2 separate regions of the Homo sapiens genome follow, and region 2 is linked to region 1. The links are contacts of gene promoters, found by promoter capture Hi-C in human tissues and cell types (Jung and others, 2019). All regions are on one chromosome and are shown on one strand. Each heading gives the region's core, a stretch centred on a gene start or on the middle of the fragment in contact. The rest is flanking DNA. Distances are from core to core; before and after follow the strand shown. Region 1 holds the start of KCNH6 (potassium voltage-gated channel subfamily H member 6). Region 2 overlaps ACE (angiotensin I converting enzyme).

Region 1 (4,207 bases), core at 876-3,375:
AGCCCAAGCACTTGCTCCAGCCCCAGGCTCCACAGCACCCTTGTTTGATGACTCTGTCCCTGCTCTTACTTTTCTGTGCCATAATGTCCTTATTTGTCCCTATTACTAGCTATCAGCTCTATAAGAGCTGGATGCACATCAGGAGTGTGCCCCTCTGTAACAACTCTAGTCAGCACAGGCCATGGTGCACAAAAGGGACTTGGAAAATGATGGAATGAGTAAGTGAATGAATGAATGAATGAATGTCCCACTGCCCAAGTCCCTCCTCAGAGCTCAGCACCCCATGTACTGAGCTCATGAGAAATAGCCCCTTCTTTTCCTCCACAGCCAGCCTGTCCAACAGAGGGGCAGCCAGGACATCTCTGCCCTCTTCTCATCCCCCAGCCACAGTGGCCAAAGAGGCCCCCACTAGGCACTGTGGCTCTGCATGACAAACACACATCCAGCCCAGGACTCTAAGCCTCTCACCTGGACTCCAGTAAAAACCTTGCTGAGCCTCCTTGTCTATCCTTCCTCCCCCACCCACCATTGTAAAGTTTATGTCACCAGAATATTTCTTTCATGTCTAATTGCTTAAGAACTTGGTTGTTCATCAATTAAATCTAGATGTTCAAAATGGCATCTGAGGGTCTTTATTAATTACCTCCTTCCTCCAAACTCACCTCTCCCACACCCCCTTGTTCCCCCCACCCCAGCCCCTCTGCACTGACATCACCTTTGGCCTTTGCCTAAGGTGCATGCCCCATTTGAATGCTTGCCCTCCAAGATCAGGCTCAAAATTGCTCACCAAACCCTCTGCAGCACTACAAGCCCACCCAGATGCTCAGTGAACAGTAGTCCCCTTCTCCCCTTCCTCTCCAGGAAGCCTCTTTCAATAAACCTATTCCCACCCCCATTTGCTTTTTCTAGTGTGTTCATTTTCAGTCAGTACTCAGTACTCAGACACTTTTATCAGTGGTCACTTGCTAATAGGTGGTTTTAAATCTGTTCTCCTTCCAAGATGTACCTGTATGCTAAGAGCTCTCAGGCCTCTGAAGAAGGCATCTTATTGCATACTTCTTTCTTTCTTTCTTTTTATTTTCAGATGGAGTCTCGCGTCTCGCTCTGTCTACCAGGCTGGAGTACAGTGGCGCAATCTCGGCTCACTGCAACCTCCGCCTCCCGGGTACAAGCGATTCTCCCACTTCAGCCTCCCAAGTAGCTGGGATTATAGGTTTGCGCCACCACTCAGCTAATTTTTGTTTTTTCAGTAGAGACAGGGCTTCGCCATGTTGGCCAGGCTGGTCTCAAACTCCTGACCTCAGGTAATCTGCCCACCTCTGCCTCCCAAAGTGCTGGGATTACAGGCGTGAGCCACCGCGCCTGGCCCTTATTGCATATTTCTTGCACGTCTTCATGTGTACTCCTACCCCCTCCTCTCAGGACCAGGCCCTGGCTGGACTTGGCGGCAGGAGCTCTGCATGGGACCTAGGTCTCAGCTGAGCTGGAGATCACTTGCTATAAGAGCAGGCCAGAGGCCTAATGGTATCATTGCCAGGGTCGGGCCCAGTGGTCAGACCCGGAAGAAAGCTTTCAGCCAAAGACCACCTGAGGCCCCTAACAACCCCATCTGTAGCCCCCCTCCTGCCTGGGAAACTCCCTGCACTGGGAGGGGAGACTGCCCTTTGGTACTGGGAGGGAATCGGAGAGGTGCTGAGGCCATTGGCCCTTAGGACAGGAACAGAAGCAGCTCCTCAGAGAACACCTGCCCTATTCCAGGGCCAGGACCCCAGCCCCGCCCCGCCCCGCCCCGCCCCGCCCCGTAGGATGCAAGGCCCCGCCCCAGCCCCGTCGGGTCCCAGAGAAACTGCCCCGCCCAGCGGCCCCCTCCCCGCCGCCGGCGCGCGGCTTCTTTCAGCACCAAGGCGTGGACAGCTCCCGGGCCGGCGCAGAGGAGAGGAGGCCAGGAGGGCGCGGGCCAGGGAGGCGAGGGGAGGGCAGGGGAGCGCAGGAAAGGAAAGGAGAGGTGGGGCAGGGGTGGGGAGGGGAGGGCAGACGCAGGCTGGCGGGCGGGGCGCGGAGCCCGGCGGCCCTCCCCGGGGGCGGCGCCCACCGGAGCCGGACGCTGCTGAGCCCGAGGACAGACGGAGACGCCGGGAGCCAGTGGCGCCTGTGGCTCCGGGCAGGGGCCGCGGCCGAAAGATGCCGGTCCGCAGGGGCCACGTCGCTCCCCAAAACACTTACCTGGACACCATCATCCGCAAGTTCGAGGGCCAAAGTGAGTGTGTGTATGTTGGGGCGGGGGGACGATCTGGAGTCCTGGTTCCGTGAAAGGGGGGGCTGGACCCCTTTACTAACTTCTAACCGGGCAAGGTGGTGAGTGCCGGGTGCTGAATGAAAAATCCTTCTTTTGATGTCCCCAACACCTTCTCCTCCAGGGGGACCCGCTTGCCTTAAATGCTGTCCTCTTTTCTGGAACACAAGGAGCAGCGTGCAGGCCTTCCCTCCCTACTGCCAGCTGTTTCCTTGGTGCCCCAAGTTCGAACCTCCCCTTCCAGCCACTGCCTGCCCCCTCATCCGCGTCCTCCAGAGGCTTCTCTGAGTCCTTCTTTTCCTTCCTTTTCATATCCTGGTTCTGGTCTTCCCAGGAGCTTTCCCAGGCCTGACCCCCATCTGGTCACATCCCTGCCTCCCTTCCCCACACTTTTCCTGTTTCCAGGAGGCCTTGGGCCTTCCTTCCACCTCAAGACCCTCACTGCCCTAGTCTTCCCACAATCCCCAGGCCTGACTCCCTCCCTCATTCCGGTCACTGCCCTGCTCCTCTGCCTAAATTCCCCTTACTGCCACCAAGAGTCCTTATGATCTTTCCCTCCCAGCCGCTGGATCCTGGCTCCCATGGACTTTTTGCCTCCCACCTCCCACCCCAGGTCGGAAGTTCCTGATTGCCAATGCTCAGATGGAGAACTGCGCCATCATTTACTGCAACGACGGCTTCTGCGAACTCTTCGGCTACTCCCGAGTGGAGGTGATGCAGCAACCCTGCACCTGCGACTTCCTCACAGGCCCCAACACACCAAGCAGCGCCGTGTCCCGCCTAGCGCAGGCCCTGCTGGGGGCTGAGGAGTGCAAGGTGGACATCCTCTACTACCGCAAGGATGGTGAGGCATACTCAGGCCAGAGGCTTTGCAGGGCAGGCTTGGCCCTCTGTCTTGTCCAGCCAGGGTGGCCTTGGGGAAGGCACTGACCCAGGGTCCAAAGGGCCTGAACAAACCCTGTTTCTTCTAGGGGCCTTGGTTCCTCCACAGGCATTGGATATGATGCCTTCTGAGGTCCTTTGCAGGAGCTAGGGATCAGGCTGGGCCACCCACTGGTTCTGGCCTGGGGCAGGGCCTCCTGCTCTGCCATCCCTCTGCTGTGTCCCTGGTCTCCTGGCTCTCCACTATCTTACTGTCAGCCCCAGCGGTCAGGCAGCTGGGATGGAAATTAACCTTCCCTCCTCTCCGTCTGCTCCAAGGATTAGAGGAGGAGTCACCTCCTGAAGACCTCTGTGGCCAGGCAAGGCATGGGGGCTTTTGGCTGGCAAAGTGGGGTGGGCCTGCCTTATCCAGTCTCAGCTCTTTGGGGAGACAGGGTCTGGAGTTTTCCCTGACCAAGAAGCTCATTCAGATGGAGTTTGGGTTGTTACTGCCAGCTGGAGCATACTGCAAGCAGAACAGAAGCGTAAGTCAGGAGCTGAAGACAGATCTCAGCAGCCCTTGGAAATCCTCCCCCACCCCCCAGGACCACAGGGTCCTCACTGGACCTGGCAGCATGGGTGGGAACGAGGAAAAGAGCCTGAATGTCCTGGGAAATCTCTTGAATCAATGGCCCCCAACCTGGTTCTGCATCAGAATTACCCAGAGCATGTTTTCCAAAACATGCTTTCTCTACAGAGAGGCTGACTCAGAAGGTGTGAGATGAGGCCAAGCGGGTGTATTTGGAAATATCTCCCTGGTGGTTCTGATGTCCTGCTTACTTTAGGAACCACTGGCTTAGGTAAATCCCTTCATTTCATAGATGTGGAAGGGATTTGCCCAAGATCCCACTGCTAGAGTCCAACCTGGGACTGGAACCCAAGTCTCTGGATTCCTCCCTCGGAGATTTCTTTTGAGTAATCCCAAGAGGAGAGAAAGGACCCCAGCTGCCTTTGTGTTTACAGGCAGGATTTCTGGGGAAGGAGGTGCTCAGG
Region 2 (4,207 bases), core at 482-2,981, 35 kb before region 1:
CAACTTAATTCCACTGCCCCCTCACCACCACCTCCAGCCCTCAGCTCCCACTTGGGGCCTCCCGCTCAGAGGCTGCTCTGGAGCTCCTGGGCCCTGTGACACCATCCCCCTGTGCCCTCAGCTGCAGAAGAACATGCAAATAGCCAACCACACCCTGAAGTACGGCACCCAGGCCAGGAAGTTTGATGTGAACCAGTTGCAGAACACCACTATCAAGCGGATCATAAAGAAGGTTCAGGACCTAGAACGGGCAGCACTGCCTGCCCAGGAGCTGGAGGAGGTGTGTGGCTCGCAAGGTACAGGGAGAGGGGAATCCTGGGGCAGTGAGCCCAACACAGGGTCTGGCCTGGCCTTCACGCTGCTTCCTCTTCCTCGTTGTATCAAGTCATGGCATCTGCCATGCGATGTGCACCTCAGAACTGCTGAGAGGGCAGCGCTCCCCAGCTCCCTGGCTCCCCACCTGCCAGCCCATGGGGCCTGGGGGTAGTGCAGGCCCCAGAGAGACCAAGTGCAAAGGAGTACAGCTCATTGCCTCTCCTTCCTCCTGCAGTACAACAAGATCCTGTTGGATATGGAAACCACCTACAGCGTGGCCACTGTGTGCCACCCGAATGGCAGCTGCCTGCAGCTCGAGCCAGGTGAGAGCTCATGTGCAGGCTGAGTGAGAGGCGAGGGCTGGGACTGGCATGGGGCCCGGGGGTGCTGGGTGAGAGCACAGAGTTGGGTTCCCCTCGCTCTTGGGGTCAGCGTGCCCAGGAAATGCCCTTTCTTGTTTTCCACGAGGGGGGCTTCTCTGCCCCACTGAGAGCCGGCACCTACTTCATACCATGCCCCGATCAGCTGCCCCTCCCTCAGAACCGCCCTCTGCTTAAGGGTGTCCACTCTCTCCTGTCCTCTCTGCATGCCGCCCCTCAGAGCAGCGGGATCTCAAAGTTATATTTCATGGGCTTGGACTCCAAATGGGGGGAACTCGGGGACACTAGCTCCCCCCGGCCTCCTTTCGTGACCCTGCCCTTGACTTCCTCACCTTCTCTGTCTTTCCTGAGCCCCTCTCCCAGCATGTGACTGATAAGGAAATTGAGTCACACAGCCCCTGAAAGCGCCAGACTAGAACCTGAGCCTCTGATTCCTCTCACTTCCCTCACCTACCCTGCCACTTCCTACTGGATAGAAGTAGACAGCTCTTGACTGTCCTCTTTTCTCCCCACTGGCTGGTCCTTCTTACCCCGGCCCGTTTGAAAGAGCTCACCCCCGACACAAGGACCCGCACACAGATACCTCCCAGCTCCCTCTCAACCCACCCTTTCCAGGGTTGGAGAACTTGAGGCATAAACTTGCTTCCATGAGGAATCTCCACCCAGAAATGGGTCTTTCTGGCCCCCAGCCCAGCTCCCACATTAGAACAATGACAAATAGAAGGGGAAATGGAAAATAAACAGGAGAAACGGTTTTCCCAGGACAGGGTTTGGCCTACAAGTTGTGGATGTGGGTACCCATGCCAAGTGTGAGGGGAGGCTGGCCGGGTGTGGTGGCTCATGCCTCTAATCCCAGCACTTTGGGAGGCCAAGGTGAGTAGATCACTTGAGGCCGGGAGTTTGAGACCAGCCTGGCCAACATGGTGAAACCCCATCTGTACTAAAAATACAAAAGTTAGCTGGGCGTGGTGGTAGATGCCTGTAGTCCCAGCTACTTGGGAGGCTGAGGCATGAGAATCGCTTGAGCCCAGCCTGGGCAATACAGCAAGACCCCGTCTCTACAAATAAAATACAAAAAATTAGTTGGATGTGGTGGTGCATGCCTGTAGTCCTAGCTGCTAGGGAGGCTGAGATGGAAGGATTGCTTGAGCCTGGGAGGTCAAGGCTGCAGTGAGCCGAGATGGCGCCACTGCACTCCAGCCTGGGCAACAGAGTGAGACCCTGTCTCAGAAAAAAAAAAAAAAAAAAAAAGGAGAGGAGAGAGACTCAAGCACGCCCCTCACAGGACTGCTGAGGCCCTGCAGGTGTCTGCAGCATGTGGCCCCAGGCCGGGGACTCTGTAAGCCACTGCTGGAGAGCCACTCCCATCCTTTCTCCCATTTCTCTAGACCTGCTGCCTATACAGTCACTTTTATGTGGTTTCGCCAATTTTATTCCAGCTCTGAAATTCTCTGAGCTCCCCTTACAAGCAGAGGTGAGCTAAGGGCTGGAGCTCAAGGCATTCAAACCCCTACCAGATCTGACGAATGTGATGGCCACGTCCCGGAAATATGAAGACCTGTTATGGGCATGGGAGGGCTGGCGAGACAAGGCGGGGAGAGCCATCCTCCAGTTTTACCCGAAATACGTGGAACTCATCAACCAGGCTGCCCGGCTCAATGGTGAGTCCCTGCTGCCAACATCACTGGCACTTGGGTCCCTTCATTTTCCTCAAAGAGGTGCTGTGAAACCCCAAGCCTAGGAAAAGGTAGATCCCTGGAGGAGGCAGGTAATGTGGTGTTGGGAGAGCCTGGCTGTGTCCCCTCTGTAGGCTATGTAGATGCAGGGGACTCGTGGAGGTCTATGTACGAGACACCATCCCTGGAGCAAGACCTGGAGCGGCTCTTCCAGGAGCTGCAGCCACTCTACCTCAACCTGCATGCCTACGTGCGCCGGGCCCTGCACCGTCACTACGGGGCCCAGCACATCAACCTGGAGGGGCCCATTCCTGCTCACCTGCTGGGTAAGGGCACATGTCGGGCCTTGAGGAGGGTAAAGACGGACCACAGTGTGAGTGAGGGTTGGGACAGGGCTGACTAGAGGGTAGGGAGCAGGCTGGGGACTGAGAGACTCCAGCCCTGTGGGGGATGGTTGCCCAGGCTGGAGGGGGGTGGGCGCTGGGAGTGGGGAGCCCCCCACTTGCATCTGGTGCCACATTCACTGCAGATCTATGTCGGGCAAGTCACCATGGATGGGGGAAGAAGTTAATAATCTTGTCCAGGAGACCACGGCACCCATCACAACATTGTGTGATCTTAGAGGGCGAGGAAGAGGCTGTGAGTGGGAGCTGGGGAGGCTTTGCCAAGAGGTGGCCTGTGAGCAGGGCCTCGGAAGATGACAGGGTTTGACAGATGGGAAGTGGGGGATGAGAGGACAGACGCAGTGTTCAGGCCAAGGGAACTGGAACAAAGAAGAACCTGAGAATGTAAATCTACTTCAACCCTGGACCCTCCTTTGCCAAGGGCTGCAATCTCAGATGCCCTGAATGTGTGAAGTAGGCGGTGAGGACAGTAAGGGATGGTAGGGAGTAAGGCAAAGCAGAGGCTACTGGTTCTCTGTCCCTGATGGGCTGTTAGGAACACTTTCCTGGAGCAGAGAGACCAGACAGGCCCTCAGACCATTTAGAAACTATAAGGGAGGCCCCAGAGGACGGCCTGGCTGTGGGTCTAGCTCCCACACAGGCTGGGAGTCCAGCCCTCTTCAGCCCCTCTCTGGTGAGACCAAAGAACATCTGGTGATGTCACAGTGGACGTCAGTTCACCAACTGGGAGACACAGGCCCCGGGAAGAAAAGCAACATGCCCAGCGTGGCCTGGGAGCTGGGGCAGAGCTGGCCTTAGAACTCAGCCCCTGACAATTGGTAAAAGGGGAAAGGGGAGCAACCTAACACTGATGCGCTCTCTGTCTCTCTCTCTGGCTCTCTCCCTGGCTCTCTCCCTCTTCTCTCTCATGTTCTCTCCATCACTCATCGCTCTAACCCTCTCTCACTGGTTTGCACTTTAGACTTCATCTGATGTCAGCCGAAGCTTCACCTCACTTGGCTAGGAAAGAGCCTTGAGTCCAAATCTGTTTCTGAGCCTTCCATTCATCCTGAGTTTCTTCCTTTTCCTCTGTCGTGGAGAACTAGGCTCTTTTCTTACACTAAACTCAGAGGCATCAGCCTCTCCTGAAGGAGACGGCTGGTTCCTGTCAGAGTTGCTGAGCTGCAGACACCGACCTCAGGTGGTGCGGAGGGGACATGGCAGAGTGGCTGGTGAAGAGAGCAGCCTGCCAGCCTTTCAATCCCAGCCCTGCCACTTAGGAGCCGTGGGCCCCCGGCGAGGGGGGCGGTCACTTAACTCTCCAGCCTGTTTCCTTTACTAGCCAATGGGAATCGTGACAGTACCTGGGTGCAGACAGGATTGAAAGTGAATTCACACAATGTTCTTGGTGCAGAGCCAATAAGAGGTGGCCACCGGGGTGTAGGTGTTCTGG

What was found. Contacts are between HindIII fragments. The study calls those that stand out against the background at their distance.
Region 2: a contact is called between a fragment that was not itself captured here and the fragment with the promoter of KCNH6 in region 1, in 4 of the 25 tissues and cell types used here (IMR-90 fibroblasts, lymphoblastoid cells, mesenchymal stem cells and 1 more).

What each region holds. Positions count from the first base shown.
Region 1 is chr17:63,521,233-63,525,439 of GRCh38, forward strand. It overlaps KCNH6 (potassium voltage-gated channel subfamily H member 6), which reads left to right and starts at 2,126. Exons shown (of 13, transcript NM_001278919.2): 1 at 2,126-2,257; 2 at 2,907-3,137. The coding sequence starts at 2,182. The HindIII fragment of the contact is 20,898 bases long and covers 1-4,207 here.
Region 2 is chr17:63,486,436-63,490,642 of GRCh38, forward strand. ACE (angiotensin I converting enzyme) reads left to right here. Exons shown (of 25, transcript NM_000789.4): 14 at 122-280; 15 at 551-638; 16 at 2,213-2,356; 17 at 2,506-2,697. Among named protein-coding and RNA genes, the nearest start is that of ACE, 11 kb to the left of the region's middle. RefSeq lists an enhancer at 58-558. The HindIII fragment of the contact is 4,675 bases long and covers 1-4,069 here.